7 separate regions of the Homo sapiens genome follow, and regions 2, 3, 4, 5, 6 and 7 are each linked to region 1. The links are contacts of gene promoters, found by promoter capture Hi-C in blood cells and fetal thymus (Javierre and others, 2016). All regions are on one chromosome and are shown on one strand. The core of a region is centred on a gene start or on the middle of the fragment in contact, and the rest is flanking DNA. Distances in the headings are between cores, read along the strand shown.

Region 1 (2,678 bases), core at 90-2,589:
CGAGGCTCCAGGCGCCCAGGACTAGGGCCAGGGCACGCAGGGGCGTCATGCGCAGCTTGTAGCGCAGCGGCGAGAGGATGAGCAGGTAGCGGTCCAGGCTGATGAGGCAGAGGTTGAGGATGGAGGCGCTGCAGCACATCACGTCGAAGGCGGTCCAGAGCAGGCAGAGGCCGCGCGCCAGCACCCAGCGCCCGTACAGCGCGTTCAGCATGGCCGGCGGCATCACCACCAGCCCCACCATCAGGTCAGACGTGAAGAGCGACACCAGGAAGAAGTTGGACGTGTTGCGCAGCGCGGGCTGAGTGCAGATGAGCGCGATCAGCAGCGAGTTGGCCGCCGCCGTCAGCGCGATGACCACGCACAGCGCGGCCGCCACCCAGCCGCTGCCCCCCGGGGCCGACGGCGGCCCTGCCCCCCAGGCCGGGGTGCTATTGGCGGTTGGGCCCGGCTCTGGGACCATGAGGACCGAGGGTGGACGGCAAGGGAGTGATAGGGTGGCGGGAAAGCAGATGAGGGCCCCGGCGAAGCGCAGGCTGGACGGGGACCGTCCGTGAGAACAGACCGCGACTCACCACGCCCCCCGGGGGAGGTGAGTGGGGGGACATGGGCGGGGGCGCTGGGTCGCGCTAGGTCAGGGGGCAGCGACTACAGGAGGACACAGTGTGGCTATTTGGGCGCCCTCGGGGATGGGGCAGGAACTCCTGGAGCAAACGGGTTGGAAGTTTGGGGAGGGGCACCCGATGAGCCGAGGCCCCTGAAGGAAGCGGCGGGAAGTCAAGCAGAGGTCGGATGGGCTCCCTGGGGTGGGAGCAGAGCCCCCTGGAGGGGGCGGGCGGCAAGATAGGGGAGGGGCGTCCGGCCGGGTCAGAGTGCGGGGAAGTGGGAACGCGGGGAGGTGGGTGAGGGGGGTGAATGGGCGCTCTCGGGCCGGAGCAGGCTCCCCGCGGCCGGTGGGCGTGTGGGGTACCAGGGCGGGGGCCTAGGGGCCGGAGCAAAGCCGCCCCTGGGAAAGGCAGGTCTCAGCTGGCGCGGAGGCACCGGGATCCGGCGCACACGGCCTGTGCGGCGCGGGGGTTCGCCGGGGCCGCCAGGCCCCGCGGGAAGAGGAGGGCAGCGGCCGCGCGGCGCCCCCTCCCCACCCGGCAGCAGGGTCGCCTCCGTCTCCCGCCCGCACTGGTACCTGGGGCGCTCTGGCTGCTCCGCCGCCTGCGACTGCGGCAAGCGCCGCGGGGCTGCGAGAGGAAGAGGCGGCCGCGGGCCGGGCGGGCGGCGGGACCGGGTCTCCCGAGCCCGGGAGGCGCCGCGAGGGGCCCGCACGCGCGGAGGAGAGGCCGGGTGCAGCCTGGAGCGCGCGGTCCCCGCGCCGCGGAGCGTGCGCCCCGCCTCGCGGTGGGCGGGGAGAGCCGAGCCCTGGCCCTGCAGGAGGGCGGGGTCCCGGCACCCCGGGCCTGTGGGCCGAAGATCAGAGCGCCCCAGCTGCGAGGGGTCACCTCCCGGGCTGTGGCAGCCCCCACACCCTCAGATGCCCCTCCCAACCCACACGTGGCGGCGGCGCAGGCGGAACTGGGAGCAGGGGGCTGTGACCTGCCCTTATCCAGGGGCTGCTCTCTAATGGGTGCCTGCCCACTCACAACGGGGTCACCGGGCTTTCAGGGGAGCCAGGAGTTGGGAAATATTGGACAAATCGCCTGACACCCCTCTGGGCCTCAGTTGCCATATCTGTAAAATGGGTTAGTAATTCTGGGCATTCTTCACCGTTAGTTTGAGCAAGAAGCTAACCTTCCCCAGGGCCTTTCCCGCAGAAACCATCCCGATCCCCAAAGGGGCCAGGTACTAAGGATGAAGTCCCTGAGCTGTTGGCGCTCCTAGTCTAACAGAGCGTGAACAGATTTGAGAATCCCCAGGCCAGGTGTGTTAAGAGTCGCTGCAGGCAGAGGCGTGGGGTGTGGTTTCCCCTGGGTGTGACCTCCCTCTGTACGTCTCCCCTCTGGCTGAGAAGAGTCTCTGCCTAACACTGCTGTGCAGGTTAATACTGTTATTCATTCATTCATTGAACAGATACTTCAATGCATCTTTTAAGGCGCATCCACTAGATGTCAGGCACTGTTCTGACCCATCAGGACACTACAGTGGCCAAAACAAAGATCCGCACCTCCATGGAGCTTACATTCTAGTGGAAGAAACAGACAATAAACAATAAGCATAATCAACAGAGAAAGTGGGCCCAGCGAGGTGGCTCACGCCTGTAATCCCAGCACTTTGGGAGGCGGAGGTGGGCAGATCACCTGAGGTCAGGAGTTCGAGACCAGCCTGACCAACATGGTAAAACCCCGTCTCTATCAAAAATACAAAAATTAGCTGGGCGTGGTGGCGGGAGCCTGTAATCCCAGCTATTCGGGAGGCTGAGGCAGGAGAATTGCTTGAACCTGGGAGGCAGAGGTTCCAGTGAGCCAAGATTGTGCCACTGCACACTCCAGCCTGGGTGACAGAGCAAGACTCTGTCAAAAAAAAAAAAAAAAAAAAAAAAAAAAAGGAAAGAAAGAAAGAGAGAAAGGAAAGAAAGAGAAAGAAAGAAGAGAAAGAGAAAAAGAAAATGTAGTATAAAGAGAACGGGGTGGGATCATTTTTTCTCCACAGAAACAGAAAAATAATACTTTCCAAATCGAAGGCTCCTGCGC
Region 2 (2,678 bases), core at 79-2,578, 500 kb after region 1:
GCTTCCCTGAACTTATGGTTGTGATGGCCACTCTGGCCAGTGCAGGTCAAGGTGCTGGTCACCTTCAGCTTCATAATGCTGCTGTGGATTGGCTGAGCAGATGGTAAGATGATGAAGTTGTATCTGTAGGTTACAACATTGATCTTGAGAAGTGGGTTACTTTCTTTATAGCTCAAAGTGAGTACAGAAGAAATTTGAATCTCTACCCTTTCATTGGAGTTTGGGAGTTGGGTGGGTAGCAAATAGCTCTGTTCACTTTAGACTTCATCTTCATCATTTTCTTAGTAGAGTTTCCTGTTCATTGTTCCCAAGATAATTCTTGGGGAAAGTATGCCAAGTGTTAATGATAATTCTAAGGCCAGAGCACCCCAAGCTATGTAACTATATAGTACTTATGGAGTTTTCTAAGAATGCTTCTGCTTCACAGTGTCCTCAGATTGATTCAAAGTTAATGAAGATGCCTCATTTCGTTGGTTTCTTCGATGATTTTGTGTCTCCTCTTTCCCCTCTTTTTTTTCTTTGGGACAGCAAGAAATACCTGTCACAGAAGAATGTAGTTGAAAAACTGAATGCCAATGTAATGCATGGAAAGGTAAGAAAAGTGAGGAATGACAATGGGGGGTGAAGGGAAAGGTGATTCTCACCTCTGTGGTCAGGTGGAAGTCTCTCGTTCCTATTGAGTTCTGTGCCTGGCTAGCCTACCAAGGATAAGGCTGATAATCTCAAAGACTGGAAATATGTAGTTGCTAACTGTGTGCCTTTAGGCATGTTTTGGCTGGCAAGAAGTGATGGGAAGGAAATATACTGGTAAATAAGCAGACAGAATCTTTCTTAAAACATAGAGTTCCTGCCATCCTAAGATATTGGAATGTTATGGGAAACTGTCTCCCTGCTCAGGCTTTGGAACTGTGCCACTCTGAGTCAGTGTTATAAAAGGCCAAATACAGCCTCCTCAGCTCTAGTCCAGATGCTAAGCTTTGTTTAATTTGCCTGAAGGTTCTGGTTACTCTGGTAAGAAAAGCGGTTTGAAACTGACAGAAATCCTGCATTCAGGCATTTTCTCCTCCTGCCCAACCCATGAACTGGCATAGGTGGCTAGGAACAGATAACTAGCTTCTGAGAACCACTTTGGTACCATTCATTACTCCCTCCTTTTTTGCTGATCTTTATCCTTTCAGCACTGACATGTCAGAGTGCAGAGCAAAGGAACTTAGAAATCTGAGTCTTTGATGCCAATTAATTGGGTTTTCTAGGCAAGCATGAACTATCTGCAATGATTTGCTAGAATTTTTTTCTCTTGATTTCTGAAGGTATTCCTCTCCTGCATTACTTTAAAGCCTGATAATTAAAATGACTTTCACTTAATGGTTAAAAAATGCTAATGTTAGGGGGGAAATGCTAATGGGAGTCTCTTCATACTCTAATCTGGTCTTTTCTTGAATGATTTTAATCAGTTTTTACTCTATTCTTCTAATTTCAATCCTACTTCATCTTACAAGACTTTGTAAAGAGCTGTCTTTGTGCCTAAGAATGAATGAATACATGTTACTTCAGTACAATTTACTGACCAGCTACGTGGGGACGGAGTGGTAAAACCTGGTTAATAAATAAAAACACACTGTTTTTCTTCTCTGCTCTCATACCATTTCTCTGATCTTGAGCTTTATTTGAAAAAGCTTGAGAAAACATGGTTTACATAATGAAACATGGAGAATCTGAAGTTGCTGTGGGGCTTCTCTTACAGCATGTGATGATCTTGGAGTGCACATGCCATATCATGTCTTACTTGGCTGATGTCACGAATGCCCTGAGCCAGAGTAATGGTCAAGGCCCAAGTCATCTCTCAGTGGATGGGGAAGAGCGGGCCATTGAAGTAGACTCAGACTGGGTGGAGGAGTTGGCGGTGGAAGAGGAAGATTCCCAGGCTGAGGATTCAGTAAGTACTAAGTAACCTCGAAGTTAACCTCTCAAGGTAATGACTAACTGGCATGGTACCAAGCTTTTGGCTCTGTTTTCCAGCCTCCTGTGAGCTTCAAAACTTCCTAGTCCTTGTTGCTGCCAGGCCCCAATTTTCTAGGCCTTCAGAGCAAGGCATGGGGATCTAATCTCTTGTGGAAAGGACTTTTTCATAAGCTTTTTCCAGAGTCACTTGTCCTGCTTTGTCAGTCTTTAATTCCAAATGGAATTTTAGGGATAAGTTCTTCATGGGGGGTAGTGGAAGCTCCCCTATAGAGAAAGCATAAGATGTTTTTTCTTAACCACAAACCCCTAAGATCTCACTCACCTGAAGTAACAACAGATTTTCAGCCAGCTAGCTATTTCCAGTTGTGGTAGATTTCCACGGGTCATTTGCGAGTCAACTATTCACCCCGCCATAGGGCGTTGAGGCACATGTGTTTTTGTGGGTGTTTATATGCAGGGATATATTTCGAATTAAAAAGACTTATTATTTTTGAAGGATGAAGATTCTCTTTGCAATAAACTCTGCACTTTTACGATCACACAGAAAGAATTCATGAACCAGCATTGGTAAGGGTAGTTCTTCCTTTAAGGTGAAGATTTGCTGGGCACCGATTGTTGGGACTTCTGAGCTTATTTGCTGGTTCTTGTTCTTTGTAGGTACCACTGTCACACCTGTAAAATGGTGGATGGCGTGGGTGTCTGCACAGTGTGTGCTA
Region 3 (2,678 bases), core at 118-2,617, 480 kb after region 1:
TTGATGAGAGAATGAATAAGGTAAGTACCTCAGATTCTTTCATAATCAGGTTTGTGGGAACAATGTGAAATACGAAGGGAGGTGTGATTCTTACCGTCCTGTGATTTATGGTTGATAAGGCAAGTATAAATTCGCTCTTGAAAATATTTGGCTTGTTACCAGTAAAATAATGTGAAGTTGTTTTTCTTTCTTTGTTGGGCTCCTTAAAGAAAAATTGGCTGGGCGCGGTGGCTCACACCTGTAATCCCAGCACTTTGGGAGGCTGAGGTGGGCAGATCACAAGGTCAGGAGTTCGAGACCAGCCTGGCCAATATGGTGAAACCCCATCTCTACTAAAAATCAAAAATTAGCCAGGCACATGCCTGTAGCCTGTAGTCCCAGCTACTCGGGAGACTGAGGCAGGAGAATCGCTTGAACCTGGGAGGTGGAGGTTGCGGCGAGCCAATATTGCACCACTGCACTCCAGCCTGGGTGACAGAGCGAGACTCCCTCTCAAAAAAAAAAAAAAAAAAGAAAAAAGAAATCAGTTTTATTGGGGTATAATTTACATGCAATAATGTGAGAAATTCTTAACGGGTTGAATCTATCCAAACATTTGAATCAGTTATTGATGATCAGTTTTGCTCTTATTTTATGTATGCATTTAGATGAGTTTTGATACACAAATGCAATCTTGTAACCATCATCACAATTGGGATATCCTTGTATTCCTTTTGACTTAAGTACTTTTAGGAAGCAGATGCACCAAAAACACTTTTAAAAAATATTTATTTTCGTTACTTTATCTTTCTCTATTCAGACGATGACAGTGAGCCTATTTTGGGGCAATGGTTTGAGGAGACTATTTCTCCCAGTAAAGAGAAAGCAGCACCTCCGCCTCCTCCCCCACCTCCTCCACTGGAAAGCTCTCCTCGGGTTAAAAGCCCCAGTAAGCAGGCCCCTGGTGAGAAGGGCAACATTCTGGCGAGTCGCAAAGATCCTGAGTTGGTAAGAGTAGGTTTCTAAGGTTTAGGGGAAGTGGACATGGGGAGCTAGGGGTATGAGAAGCAGATAATTTGAATGCAAACATTTTGTGGCTTGGATAACTGTAATGTTTAAAGATATTTTTGCTTAGGACTTATATGTCTTGATTATGTGTCATTAAATAACTTACGTGACTGTTACTGTTTCTCTGCTGGCCTTTAGAATCACTTAATGGCTTTGTGACTTTGGGCAAGAATCTGAATTTTTTCTAGCCTTAGTTTTGTCTCCTATCATATGGGAGTGATTGTACCTGCATCTAAAGGTGTTGTGACATCTTAAAGAGAGACTATTTATAAAGTGCTTAGCATAGGTCTGATATATCATCAGTGCTTGCTGTGGTTGAACTGTTGGTTCAACTAGTATTATCTAGTAAGTGTCAGTCCCCGTTCTGATGATGTGAGTGAGTCAGATACAGTTCTTGCCTTCATATATATAGCTTACAGTCAAGGATGTGGACAAAAAACATTTATACAATAATTCAATTTAATTTTAATAGAGAAGAGCTAGGAATTCTATATATGTGTAATAATCATTCATATAGGCTTCAGGATTGAATATATCAGTAGTGAATTGGAGCCGGACAAAGGACCTTAGGAGAACAAAAGAAATGGGTCAGTCTATTTGGAAATCCTGTTTTCATACACTGTTTTGTAACATCTGTTATATTAAACTGGAATGCCATTTTGTGTAAGTAGAATTAGGTGGGAAAGAGAGACTCATAATGAAACTTAGGCCCACTGTAAGTGATTTAAAATCTGATTCTTTCATTCATTGTGTTTATTGCAGGATACCTATGAGCATATTTTATTTTCTATTTGTAATCAGAGTTTATAGGAACGCTGGGCTTATGACCCTGATAAGAGCTTTTTTGTGTGTGTTCCTTTCAGTTCTTAGGTCTGGCTTCCAACATTTTGAACTTCATCACCTCTTCCATGCTGAACTCTCGGAACAATTTTATCCGAAACTATCTGAGTGTATCTCTTTCAGAACACCATATGGCCACCCTAGCCAGTATCATCAAGGAGGTGGACAAAGATGGACTCAAGGGTCAGTAGACAAGATATGTGCCTGATGGATTTTTTTTCTCATGGAGTTTGGCTGTTGGCAGGGAGGTGTGGTGCATTCAATAGCTGCTTAAATAATTGGCTTTTCTACTTGTCTTTAAGGTTCATCAGATGAAGAGTTTGCTGCAGCTCTCTATCACTTCAACCACTCACTGGTAACCTCTGACCTTCAGTCACCTAACCTGCAGGTTTGTGTGTGCTGTGACCATCTAGGCAAGAGCTCATGACACCAGCTTCCATAGGCTGCAGCTCCAATTGTTTGTTTGTTTGTTTTTTTGAGATGGAGTCTTGCTCTGTTACCCAGGCTGGAGTGCAGTGACACGGTCTTGGCTCACTGCAACCTCCACCTCCCAGGTTCAAGCGATTCTCCTGCCTCAGCCTCCAGAGTAGCTGGGATTACAGGTGTGTGCCACCATGGCTGGCTAATTTTTGTATTTTTAGTAGAGACAGGGTTTCACCTTGTTGGCCAGGCTGGTCTCAAACTCCTGACCTCAGGTGATCCGCCCGCCTCAGCCTCCCAAAGTGCTGGGATTATAGGCGTGAGCCACCGCGCCCGGCCTGTAGCTCCAATTGTTAAGGAACAGTTTGTCA
Region 4 (2,678 bases), core at 113-2,612, 460 kb after region 1:
TACTTTCACCTCTATCTCTTTATTTTCCTTCCCGTGCTTATATTTGCTTCCATTTCTTCATTCTTCTCCTTCCTACTTAACTTTTTGTCCTTTGTTCCATTTTTCCATTTCTTATTCTCTGGTGTCTTGGTGTCTTAACATTTTCTCAGGGCATGAGGGTGAGGTTGGAAATTATGGCAGCACATCCCTATTAGCTGACTCATGCACACTGTTTCTTTAAAATCAAGAGATATGACAATGTCCATTACTTCTCTATTTCCTCCTTCAAGTCTTCAAAACCAATTTTTCCCAGGTTTATCCTTAGTTGCCCAGTGCACATTATAAGTAGAGCTGAAGACCGTTCCATTTTTCCTCTGCCAATGTCTATCTTTCCCCAAAATGCATTCTTCCTGTTTCTTTATTGGAATAAGGATGTTACGTATTTCTAGGGGAGGAAGTTGGGTTCATTAGATCACAATAGGATGACACTGAACCAGGCAATTAAATGAGTTTACTCCTATATATATATATATTTTTTTTTATATATTTCATTATCAGAATGGGTATGAAAGCAATAGGCTAAGTCCATCCTTTGGGTGGGCAGTATTTCTCTTAGATTTGGTAAACCTGTTCAGCTGGAAAAAGTGGGGATAAGCAGCTCTGAACTTTGGAAATAAATCAGGAACTTTGGAAATAAACCCAGTAAAATAACATCAAATGACAGAGTGGGAAAGCCTTAGAAAAACAAATAAGAAAGTATAAGGGTGGGGCCAGGCGTGGAGGCTCATGCCTGTAATCCCAGCACTTTGGGAGGCCAAGGCAGTGGATCACGAGGTCAGGAGTTTGAGACCAGCCTGACCAACATGGTGAAACCCCATCTCTACTAAAAAAAAAATACAAAAATTAGCCAGGCGTGGTGGCACGCACCTGTAATCCCAGCTACTCAGGAGGCTGAGGCAGGAGAATCGCTTGAACCTGGGAGGTGGAGGTTGCAGTGAGCTGAGATAGTGCCACTACATTGTAGCCTGGGCGACAGAGCGAGACTCTGTCTCAAAAAAATAAAGTATAAGGCTGGAAGTAAAGGAAAAACTAAGTATATGAGGTAGAAACAGGGGGATTTAGTAGGGAGTTTTCTGCTGTACATGTGAGCCTTAAAACTGTGTTTAGTCACCAGCAACTTTTGAGTGCTGCTTGTTGTGGAAAGGTTTTTATTTTCTCCTTTTTATGTACCCTGACAAATGGAAAAGGACCCTTAGTGGGCAGGAGGATCCTTGCACACATCATAGATGCTCCATAAATATTTTTTTCTTGGTGAAGGAGTTATTCTAAGGGACTAATCTTTGATACATACCCATTTATCCTTGATCTGCATATAGCAAAGTGCTCGCAATGCCAGACTCTCAAGTGTTATTCAAGGTGATTCATCACCGACATTGGCACCTTCCAAATAGTGACTTGTCCTTTTGGCTCCTGTGTTCATTTGGCAGGCAGATAGTCTTGCAGGCAGTGAATGGAGTGTTCACTCTGTTTACATTTCCCTTCTTAGGATGATACTTTTTTTTTTTTTTTGAGTTGGAGTCTTACTCTTTTGCCCAGGCTGGAGTGCAGTGGCACAATCTCAGCTCACTGCAATTCCACCTGCCGGGTTCAAGCAATTCTCGTGCCTCAGCCTCGTGAGTAGCTGGGACTACAGGTGGGTGCCACCACACCTGGCTAATTTTTGTATTTTTATTAGAGACGGGGTTTCACCATATTGGCCAGGCTGGTCTCGAACTCCTGGCCTCAGATAATCCACCAGCCTCTGTCTCCCAAACTGCTGGGATTACAGGCTTGAGCCACCAGCTACAATGCGTCCCACCATAGGTTGATACTTCTGCTGGGGATTGACTCACTAAGTAAACTGTTCAACCACACTGTTGTTCTTTCCATTTAATAAAATATATTTTAGTCTTTGCTTTACCTTCATGTTTCTTTCTTTTTTTTTTTCTCTGAGACGGAGTCTCGCTGTCACCCAGGCTGGAGTGCAGTGGCCCGATCTCGGCTCACTGCAGCCTCTACCTTCTGGGTTCAAGCAATTCTCTACCTCAGCCTTCTGAGTAGCTGGGATTACAGGCGCGTGCCACCACCTGCTAATTTTTGTAATTTTAGTAGAGACAGGGTTTCACCATCTTGGCCAGGCTGGTCTTGAACTCCTGATCTCGTCATCCACCTGCGTGGACCTCCCAAAGTGCTGGAATTGCAGGCATGAGCCACCACACCCGGCCAGCCACCGTGCCCGGCCCATGTTTCATCAATTGTGGATTAGCACCTGATTTGATACAATGACTTTAAATGTATCCAGCCTTTAAACCTAGTTGGTCTCTAGATTTTTTCAGAAGAGGGCATTTCCCCAGCTAAGGATAAGGGATGTGGTTAAAAAAAAAAATCACCGACTCTTTTGTGATCTCGCTTTAGTCTACAGTCAGGGGGATGGTGTAGGGGATAACTCTGTTATCCAGTGAATTTTGGACTTTAGCACTGATCATATGACTTCTTATCTTGAGTTGTTGATTCCTTTTAAGTTACTGCATTACAGGCCAGCCTTATTTGGTCTAAAATTGGTTACTTTAGTCTGTATTCCCACTAACAGTATATTGAGTATTCTGGTCTGCCCCTTTTTGGCTATCAATAATGAAGGCATATTAGCTGTTGGTCTTTGC
Region 5 (2,678 bases), core at 114-2,613, 380 kb after region 1:
AAGGTCTGAAATAAGGGTTCTGGAAGGGTAATTTTGAAGTCTCTTCTTTTGACACATCCACCCTCTCCCCCGGGGCCCCTCTCCTTACAGGGCATGTACAATGCCATCACCCGGCAGGTGGAAACGGAGCTCTTCCCCTGCCTCAGGCACTTTGGACTGAGGTTCTATGCCTTCAACCCTCTGGCTGGTACGTGGAGCATTCCTGGCCCTGTCTCAGCCTATTCCCGACCCACAGATGCCCAGCCCAGGACCTGGGAAGCAAGGAGGGTTTGACAAACTTTGACCTCTGAGGTCAAAGACGTAAAGGCTGCATCTTCAGCCCTCCTGGGTCCCTGCCCCTCCCCTAGACCAGAGCCCTGAGGGATGTGGCAGCTTCTGGGGCACTCTAGGCCCCGGGGCTGATTGCTGCTTTCCCTCAGGGGGCCTGCTGACCGGCAAGTACAAGTATGAGGACAAGAATGGGAAACAGCCCGTGGGCCGCTTCTTTGGGAATACCTGGGCAGAGATGTACAGGAATCGGTAAGCTGTGGGTGCTTGGTGTGGATGGCTGGGGTGGGGTCAGCTTTATGTGGAATGAAGTCCTGGGCTGCTCCTGGGGTAAGGCCTTTCCTCGCTGCTGCACCTACTCCCCTGAATTTCTTCGGGAATTTCCAAACCCTCCATCGGTTTTCTTGTTGTCTTGGGACCTCCAGGAGGAAAGGAGACTCCCTGGACCTCGGGGTCTTGAAGTCGTTGCTCTTTCCTGAGCAATCACCTGCTAGGAAGGAAAGAAGGAGCTCTGGAGGGAGGTCCAGGAGGCCTGGGGCTGAGTCCTGACCCATCTTAGCGGCCTTTGTGTCCCTAAGGAAAATAAGAGCAGGCTGATGAGTCCTCAGGAATAAAGATTTGTTGAGGTCTCTGCTGAGGGGCCCAGCATCCTGAGTGGTTCTCTTGCCCAGCAAAGTGGGAGACCCATGGCTAGAGAGAACACCTGCCCCTCAGGGCTGCAGGGTGTGGGGTGGGACAGTGGCCCTGGTTGGCTCTTTGGTTGTGGCTCCCAATGTGGCCCTGACACCTGTGCCACCGTCCCCCCTTCCCAGCTACTGGAAGGAGCACCACTTTGAGGGCATTGCCCTGGTGGAGAAGGCCCTGCAGGCCGCGTATGGCGCCAGCGCCCCCAGCATGACCTCGGCCACCCTCCGGTGGATGTACCACCACTCACAGCTGCAGGTAACCAGTGACCCTGTGCGCTCAGCTTCTTCCCTTCCAGGGGAACCAGCAATATCTTTAGATGAAGGCTGAAACATTTGTTTATCGATTCCTCTGAAATTTCTCTTTCTTTCAACTCTCACAAACATTCTTCCCACTGGTCTTTTTCTATGTTTTTTTTTTGGGGGGACAGAGTCTCACTCTGTCACCCAGGCTGGAGTGCAGTGGCATGATCTCGGGTCACTGCAACTTCTGCCTCTTGGGCCGAAGCAACTCTCTTGTCTCAGCCTCCCCAGTAGCTGGGATTACAGGCGTGCGCCACCATGCCCAGCTAATTGTTTGTATTTGTAGTAGAGACAGGGTTTCACCATGTTGCCCAGGCTGGTCTCAAATTCCTGAACTCAGACAATTCGCCCTCCTCAGCCTCTGAAAGTGCTGGGATTATAGGCGTGAGCCCCTGCGCTCGGCCTTCTCATTGGTCTTTGATGGTATCTGAGTGCCAGGCTTTGTAATGAGAGCTTCATTGCAGGGATTTCATTATTCCTTCAGCTTTATGAAATGACTATCCCAGTGTTATTGACGAGGAAACTGAGTTTCACCCAGCTATGAAAGGGGCAGACATTTTAACACAGGTTTAACTGTAAAGCCCACTAGTCTCATCCTTTTGGTGGGAGCTGGAGTTTCCCTCTCTCAGTGCCTCATGTCTTCCTCACTTATATCCAACTCCAGCCTTAGATGTTGCAATAGTGTCTGGCATATATACAGTAGGTGCTCAATAAATGGGAGCTAAGTGCTCTACATAATTTTTCACACCCATAACCATGTTGAAAATAGAAAAGAGGATTGAATCTCAGAGAGGTTTAATAACTTAGCCGCGTTTACACAGCTGCTGGGGGGCAGAACTGGGCTGTGAATGTAGGTCTGTCTGGAAGCGTCGTGTGGCAGTAGGGGAAGGGATACAGGTTTTGCGTCACATGGGTACAGCTATCCAAGGCACCTTAAGTTCTTTCTGGACATATGGGATACAAGAGATCCCAAATCTCAGCAGGGAGGTGGCTGGGACGGCTGTGAGTAGAGTCGCTGTGCAGCAGAAGAGGGTTGAAGTCTGGCCGTCTCCCTTGCAGGGTGCCCACGGGGACGCGGTCATCCTGGGCATGTCCAGCCTGGAGCAGCTGGAGCAGAACTTGGCAGCGGCAGAGGAAGGGCCCCTGGAGCCGGCTGTCGTGGACGCCTTTAATCAAGCCTGGCATTTGGTTACTCACGAATGTCCCAACTACTTCCGCTAGGCCCATCGTTTCTCAGGCTGCCCAAGGCTCTTCTGTAACATCTTTTGTTACTCACATTTTCTTTAATTTAGAACTGCCTCAGTAAATTCTTAGGGATGGAAGTATTTGGACAAAAACCTAATAGAAGAGTCACCACCAAATGAAGAATAAAACTCCCAGGGTGCTGTGTGTTAGTCTGTTTGCGTTGCTATAAAAGAATACCTG
Region 6 (2,678 bases), core at 1-2,500, 360 kb after region 1:
ATAGTATTTTGCAAATCACATATCTGTTAAGAATCTTGTATCTATTCTAGCTATAGGACTCTTACAACTTAATAAAAGAGAAAACCCACCTGGGTGCACTGGCTCACGCCTGTAATCCCAGCACTTTGGGAGGCCAGGCGGACGGATCACTTAAGCCCAGGAGTTCAAGACCAGCTTGGGCAACACAGCAAAACCCTGTCTCTACAAAAAATACCAAAATAATTAGTCGGGTATGGTGGCGGGCACCTGTGGTCCCAGCTAATCGAGAGGCAGAGGTGGGAGGATCTCTTGGGCCCAGGAGGTGGAGGCTGCAGTGAGCCAAAATCAGACCATTGCACTCCAGCCTGGGCAACAGAGCAAGACCCTACCTCAAAAAAGAAAAAAAAAAAAGAAAAGAAAGAAATCCCAATTAAACAATGGGCAAATTATTGGAATAGACCTTTTTCCAGAGGGCATACAGGTGGTCAGTAACCACATGGAAAGCTGCTCAAAATCAGTACTTATCAGGGAAAAGCAAATCAAAACCCCTTCAAATCTGCTAAGCACTAGGATCATCAGAGTCAATAAAATACAGAAAATAACAAGTGTTGAGGGTTTGGAGAAATGGGAGACTTAGGACACCGCCATTGAGACTGTAAAACGGTGCAACCATTTTGGAAAACATTCTGGCAGTTTTTCAAAAGATTAAGCATTTATATGACCCAGAAATTTCACTCCCTAGGTATACCTAGAAGAAATGAGGCTGGGCGCAGTGTCTCACGTCTGTAATCCTAGCACTTTGGGAGGCCGAGATGGGCAGATCACCTGAGGTCAGGAGTTCAAGACCAGCCTGGCCAACATGGTGAAACTCCATCTCTACTAAAAATACAAAAATTAGCCAGGCGTGGTGGCACACACCTGTAATCCCAACTACTTGGGAGGCTGAGGCAGGAGAAGCGCTTGAACCTGGGAGGCGGAGGTTGCTGTGAGCCGAAATCTTGCCGCAGCACTCCAGCCTGGGTGACAGAGTGAGACTCTGTCTCAAAAAAAAGAAAAAAAGAAATATATGTCCTTATTAAAAATTACGTGAATGTTATAGCAGCATTATTCATAATAGCCAGAAAGTGGAAACTGCCCAAATGTCAATCTTAATAGGTGAATGGATAAACAAAATATCTGTATGTACAATGGAACATTTTTCAAAAAAAAAAAGGAATTAAGTATGAAACATCTACAATGTGGATGAACCTTAAAAACATGTTAAGTGAAAGAAGCCAGTCACAAAAGGCCTCATATTGTATGATTCCATTTATATGAAGTATCTGGAATAAGCAAATCTATTAGACACAGAAAGTAGATGAGTGGTTGCCTAGGACTGAGAGGGAGTTTGGGAGGAAATGGAGATTCACTGCTACTGAGTACAGAGTTTCTTTTGGGGAGGTGATAAAAATGCTCTGAAATTGACTGTGGTGGTTGTACAATTCAGAATACACTAAACACCATTAAATTATACACTTTAAGTGGGTCAGTTGTATATAGTGCCTCAATAATATGTAATAAAACAATCAATTAGCTCAGAAATCTGTTAGAGCAGGGCTCAGCAGGGAAGCCTCATCTGTTCCTCAGTGTCTCAGAGGTGATCTAGCAGCTGGAGGCTAGGGTTGCCTGAAGACATTCACTCAAGCATGTGGCAGTTGCTGCTGAGGGCCAGCTGGAATATCAGCTGCTGTCATCAACCGGCACACACGTGACCTCTGCATGTGGCTTCCAAGGGAGCACATCCCAGGCAAACTAGGCAGAAGCCATGTGGCCTTTTATGTCCCAGCCTCAGAAGTCCATAACATCACTCTTGTGTCCTGGGAGGAGAGTCAAAGATACCTGTGCAAAGAGCACGTGAGAGAATGGAGTGGTTATCTTTGGAAAATAAACTGTAACACTTGGAGCAACAGTCCTGAGTGGAGAAGGTGAGCCCCGGGACCTGCCAGGAGACTGTGTCTTGACTATCCCCATCAGAGATGCATTTTCTGCTATGTCACATCCCATCCGTTAGAATCTTCCGGATACTATATCTCATAGTTGATGGTCTCTTGAATTCAGCAATTTCATATCTAAAGAGATTCTTGAAGACACCATGTTGTACACCTTAAATATATATACAATTTTTATTTGTTAATTAAAAAATAAATAAGTGAGGCCAGGCGCAGTGGGTCACGCCTGGAATCCCAGCACTTTGGGAGGCCGAGGCAGGTGGATCACGAGGTCAGGAGTTCAAGACCAGCCTGGCCAATATGGTGAAACCCCGTCTCTACTAAAAATACAAAAATTAGCCGGGCGAGGTAACAGGTGCCTGTAGTCCCAGCTACTCAGGAGGCTGAGGTGGAAGAATTGCTTGAACCCAGGAGGCCAAGGTTGCAGTGAGCTGAGATTGCGCCACTGCACTCCAGCCTGGGTGACAGAGCGAGACTCCGTCTCAAAAAAAAATAATAAGTAAGTGAGAAGGAACAAAAAAATCTAAAGAAGCAGAGCTGGATCTGGAGAGCATCTCATATATTTAATCATCCTCAAACTAAGGAAGCTGTTCTGTGCTGTATGAAAGACTGAAGGAGGAGGGGGCATCGATTTTTTATTTTATTTTATTTATTTTTTATTTATTATTATTTTTTTGAGACAGAGTCTCACTTTGTTGCCCAGGCTGGAGT
Region 7 (2,678 bases), core at 105-2,604, 340 kb after region 1:
CTGGGTGCCTGGCACACAGGAGGTGTGCACGACTGGGTGAACAGATGGAGGGAGGGAGGGAGGGAGGGAGGGATGGATGGATGGACGGATGGATGAAGGGAGGAAGAGACGGATGAGTGCTGACGCTGTGTGCAGGCAGAAGCTTCCTTGCCCACACCCCGCCACCTGCCCCACACGCCCTGAAGGATACGATGGTGTCGAGCAGCAGCACGCCCAGGCTGCCCACAAGCCAGGGCAGGTGGTGCAGCAGGTAGCTGCCCTCGCTCTGGCCCTCCTCGGGGTTTTTGAGCAGCACGCTCAGCCCATACAGCGTGTTCCCCAGCATCACCAGCGCGAACAGAGAGTAGGAGATCCCCTGGGTGGACTTCCGGAGGAACTGGGGCAGGAGGAGGTCAGGTCAGAGACCTCGAACAGGCCTCTTGTCACTCTGGATTGTAACTGTCCACATGTCCACCTGCCCCACCACAGTGCACCTGCTCTGAGCCAATCTTTCCCTGGGTGCCCAGGGATATGGGCCCGACACACAGAAGAGCCTCCTCCCACCCACAGACAAGCCCCCCCAGGCCCCTGCCCAGGTCCACGGGAGACCGTGGCTGTGCCAGGCCTGTGGCCCCACACCACCCTGCATTCCACCCCACACAGGCTCTAGCTGCCCAGCAAGCCTCCCCTCCCCGACTCCCCAGCTTCTCCTCTCCCCTCAGGCCTCCAAGCTCAGCCCCTCACCTTCCCCTGACCTCCCACTCCCCCAAGACACACATGGGCCTCTTGTAGCCTGGCTGGCAGGCCACGCCACGCCCATTTTCCAGAAGCAGAAATGGAGGCTCGGAGATTGGATTAACTTGCCCAAGCCAACAGCGGGAGTAGACCAGACTTTCTGAACCAAGGCTCCTATGCTGTGCTACTCCTTAGCCCAGAGGGCCCGGGTGGCCAGGCCAGCTCTCCTCTACTCGGCCCCACCCAGCCCCTGCTGGAGGCTCACGTTGGTGCGGATCTGAGGCAGCCGGGAAAGCAGGTACAACACGCTGGAGATGGAGCCGATGACGAAGCCAATGACTTCCTGCCGGGTGAAGGGCTGTGGGGCAGAAGGGGGCACTTGGTGTCTCGTAGGAGCCAGAGGTGATCCCCCACCCCATTTAGCACCCATGAGGCTGTGCAGGGGAGAGCCCTGGGGATGAGCCAGCCTCCATCCCTTCGACCGCCACGCCCACGCCTCACCTTGCTGCCCGACTCCACGGACAGGAGCGCCCGCCCCCGGAAGGCTTCCCTAGGGGCAGCCACGGGCCCAGCAGCACTCAGCAGCGGTGTGGCGCACGCCATCCCCATGAGGAACAACAGCACGGAGTTGATGGGGGCAGACACTGCACACAAGGCAGGGGGAAGCTGAGGTTAGATGGCTGAGTGGCAGCGGTTGTCGGGGGAGGGTGCTAAGTCCTGGCCTTGCCCCTCAGGGGCTGTGTGACCTTGGGCAAGTGACCTAACCTCTCTGAGCTTTCATTCTTCATCTGTCGAATGGGTACAACAACAGTACCCTTCTCCTAGAGTTATAAAGGTGAAACGCTGAGGGCAGGGAGGTCAGGAGGGGGTTACACGAAGCAGGAACGCTGATGAGACAACTTCCTCCCCAGGTCCCTCCCCGTGTCTGTATAGCCTCAAGCTGACCTTGTCTCCTGCTCCTCCTGAAGGCTGGGGCAGAGGCAGCCTGTGTGACTTGCCCTCGTTTCCCCAGCTCCAAGCCCAGGGCCGGACACAGAGGAGGAGCTGGAGCTGTGTCTGCTGAATGAGCCCCTGGGCGAGAGGAACCGGCCTGTGGTCTGGGCCAGGACGCGCTCACTGCCCTCAAGCCTCTATCTTGGCCAGTTAAGGCTCAGGCTCTTAGATAAGGCCCGGGGAAGGCTTTCCGAGGTTTGGGTTATCACCCAGCCATGGGAAACCCGCTTCCTCCCACACTCCAGGCGCCCCCCCCCACAACTGCCCCCTGCTGCTGGTAGAGCATCTGACAGAGAGCGGTCCCCATACTCACACAGAGAGGGGCGCGTCCTGAACTTGTAGTAAAAGTACAGCGTCAGCATCACCAGGTCTGCCAAGACATAATACACAGCCGTGTAGGTCTGTAAGAGATGCAGGGGGCCCAGGGGTTGGCGCAGTCCCAGGATCTGAGACCACGCCCCGGCAGCCCTCTGTCATATCCCAGCTGGGTGACCCGGACCAAGTCACTTCTCCTCTCTGAGCTTCTGTTTCCTTATCTGGCAAGGAAGAACTCCCAGTTCCCACCTGGCAGAATGACAGAACAGGTGGGCGAAAGACCCAGGAAAGGATCTAGCCCAGGAGGGGCCAATGAGCTGGTGGTCAGCGCTAGCAGTCAGGACAAAGTGGGACTCCGCGGTGAAGTGATGGCTCTGGTTTGGCCTGACACCAGGGCAGTCAGAACTTTCTGGTCCCACATGGGAAGACAATGCCTTCCTGATTGGGAGCCCCAGCTCTGCCTGCCCACAGGAGCAGGATGGCATCTGGGCCTCCCACGGAAAAACTCCCTTTCTCCTCGAGGGGCCCACCCTCTGAAAGCTTCGCCAGCACTCCAGCACCCTGGAGGTGGAAGACCCCGAAACCTTCCTGTTAGACATGCTCATATTGCAGATGGGGAAACTGAGGCCCAGAGAAGAGCAGTGACCTGCCCACAG

The links. Contacts are between HindIII fragments. The CHiCAGO score rates a contact against its expected background, and 5 or more counts as called.
Region 2: a fragment that was not itself captured here is called in contact with the fragment with the promoter of HTR6 in region 1 in 3 of 17 cell types (naive CD4 T cells, naive B cells and total B cells); the score reaches 5.7 in naive CD4 T cells.
Region 3: a fragment that was not itself captured here is called in contact with the fragment with the promoter of HTR6 in region 1 in 5 of 17 cell types (total CD4 T cells, naive CD4 T cells, naive CD8 T cells and 2 more); the score reaches 7.1 in total CD4 T cells.
Region 4: a contact is called between a fragment that was not itself captured here and the fragment with the promoter of HTR6 in region 1, in 1 of 17 cell types (fetal thymus). The highest score is 5.6, in fetal thymus.
Region 5: a fragment that was not itself captured here is called in contact with the fragment with the promoter of HTR6 in region 1 in 4 of 17 cell types (non-activated CD4 T cells, neutrophils, naive B cells and 1 more); the score reaches 5.8 in non-activated CD4 T cells.
Region 6: a fragment that was not itself captured here is called in contact with the fragment with the promoter of HTR6 in region 1 in 1 of 17 cell types (non-activated CD4 T cells); the score reaches 5.2 in non-activated CD4 T cells.
Region 7: a fragment that was not itself captured here is called in contact with the fragment with the promoter of HTR6 in region 1 in 8 of 17 cell types (total CD8 T cells, megakaryocytes, total CD4 T cells and 5 more); the score reaches 7.4 in total CD8 T cells.

Annotation. Positions count from the first base shown.
Region 1 is chr1:19,663,536-19,666,213 of GRCh38, reverse strand. HTR6 (5-hydroxytryptamine receptor 6) reads right to left here and starts at 1,339. Exons shown (of 3, transcript NM_000871.3): 1 at 1-1,339. The coding sequence starts at 460. RefSeq lists enhancers at 1-544, 545-1,517 and a silencer at 1,296-1,525. The HindIII fragment of the contact is 8,359 bases long and covers 1-2,678 here.
Region 2 is chr1:19,161,678-19,164,355 of GRCh38, reverse strand. UBR4 (ubiquitin protein ligase E3 component n-recognin 4) reads left to right here. Exons shown (of 106, transcript NM_020765.3): 33 at 1-103; 34 at 529-592; 35 at 1,745-1,936; 36 at 2,459-2,529; 37 at 2,620-2,678. Among named protein-coding and RNA genes, the nearest start is that of UBR4, 47 kb to the left of the region's middle. RefSeq lists an enhancer at 2,406-2,678. The HindIII fragment of the contact is 701 bases long and covers 978-1,678 here.
Region 3 is chr1:19,183,408-19,186,085 of GRCh38, reverse strand. It overlaps UBR4 (ubiquitin protein ligase E3 component n-recognin 4), which reads left to right. Exons shown (of 106, transcript NM_020765.3): 15 at 800-987; 16 at 1,911-2,070; 17 at 2,190-2,275. Among named protein-coding and RNA genes, the nearest start is that of UBR4, 26 kb to the left of the region's middle. The HindIII fragment of the contact is 2,852 bases long and covers 1-2,678 here.
Region 4 is chr1:19,202,370-19,205,047 of GRCh38, reverse strand. The region is part of intron 1 of UBR4 (ubiquitin protein ligase E3 component n-recognin 4); the gene reads left to right. Among named protein-coding and RNA genes, the nearest start is that of UBR4, 6.6 kb to the left of the region's middle. RefSeq lists an enhancer at 2,210-2,678. The HindIII fragment of the contact is 2,944 bases long and covers 1-2,678 here.
Region 5 is chr1:19,282,527-19,285,204 of GRCh38, reverse strand. It overlaps AKR7A3 (aldo-keto reductase family 7 member A3), which reads left to right. Exons shown (of 7, transcript NM_012067.3): 4 at 91-187; 5 at 420-519; 6 at 1,080-1,209; 7 at 2,313-2,632. The coding sequence ends at 2,474. Among named protein-coding and RNA genes, the nearest start is that of AKR7A3, 4.9 kb to the left of the region's middle. RefSeq lists an enhancer at 703-1,578. The HindIII fragment of the contact is 2,847 bases long and covers 1-2,678 here.
Region 6 is chr1:19,299,401-19,302,078 of GRCh38, reverse strand. LOC124903867 (a long non-coding RNA gene) reads right to left here. Exons shown (of 3, transcript XR_007065521.1): 2 at 1-201. Among named protein-coding and RNA genes, the nearest start is that of AKR7A2, 11 kb to the left of the region's middle. The HindIII fragment of the contact is 8,280 bases long and covers 1-2,678 here.
Region 7 is chr1:19,324,925-19,327,602 of GRCh38, reverse strand. It overlaps SLC66A1 (solute carrier family 66 member 1), which reads right to left. Exons shown (of 8, transcript NM_001040125.2): 4 at 2,021-2,108; 5 at 1,216-1,358; 6 at 980-1,072; 7 at 191-376. Among named protein-coding and RNA genes, the nearest start is that of SLC66A1, 14 kb to the right of the region's middle. The HindIII fragment of the contact is 2,420 bases long and covers 145-2,564 here.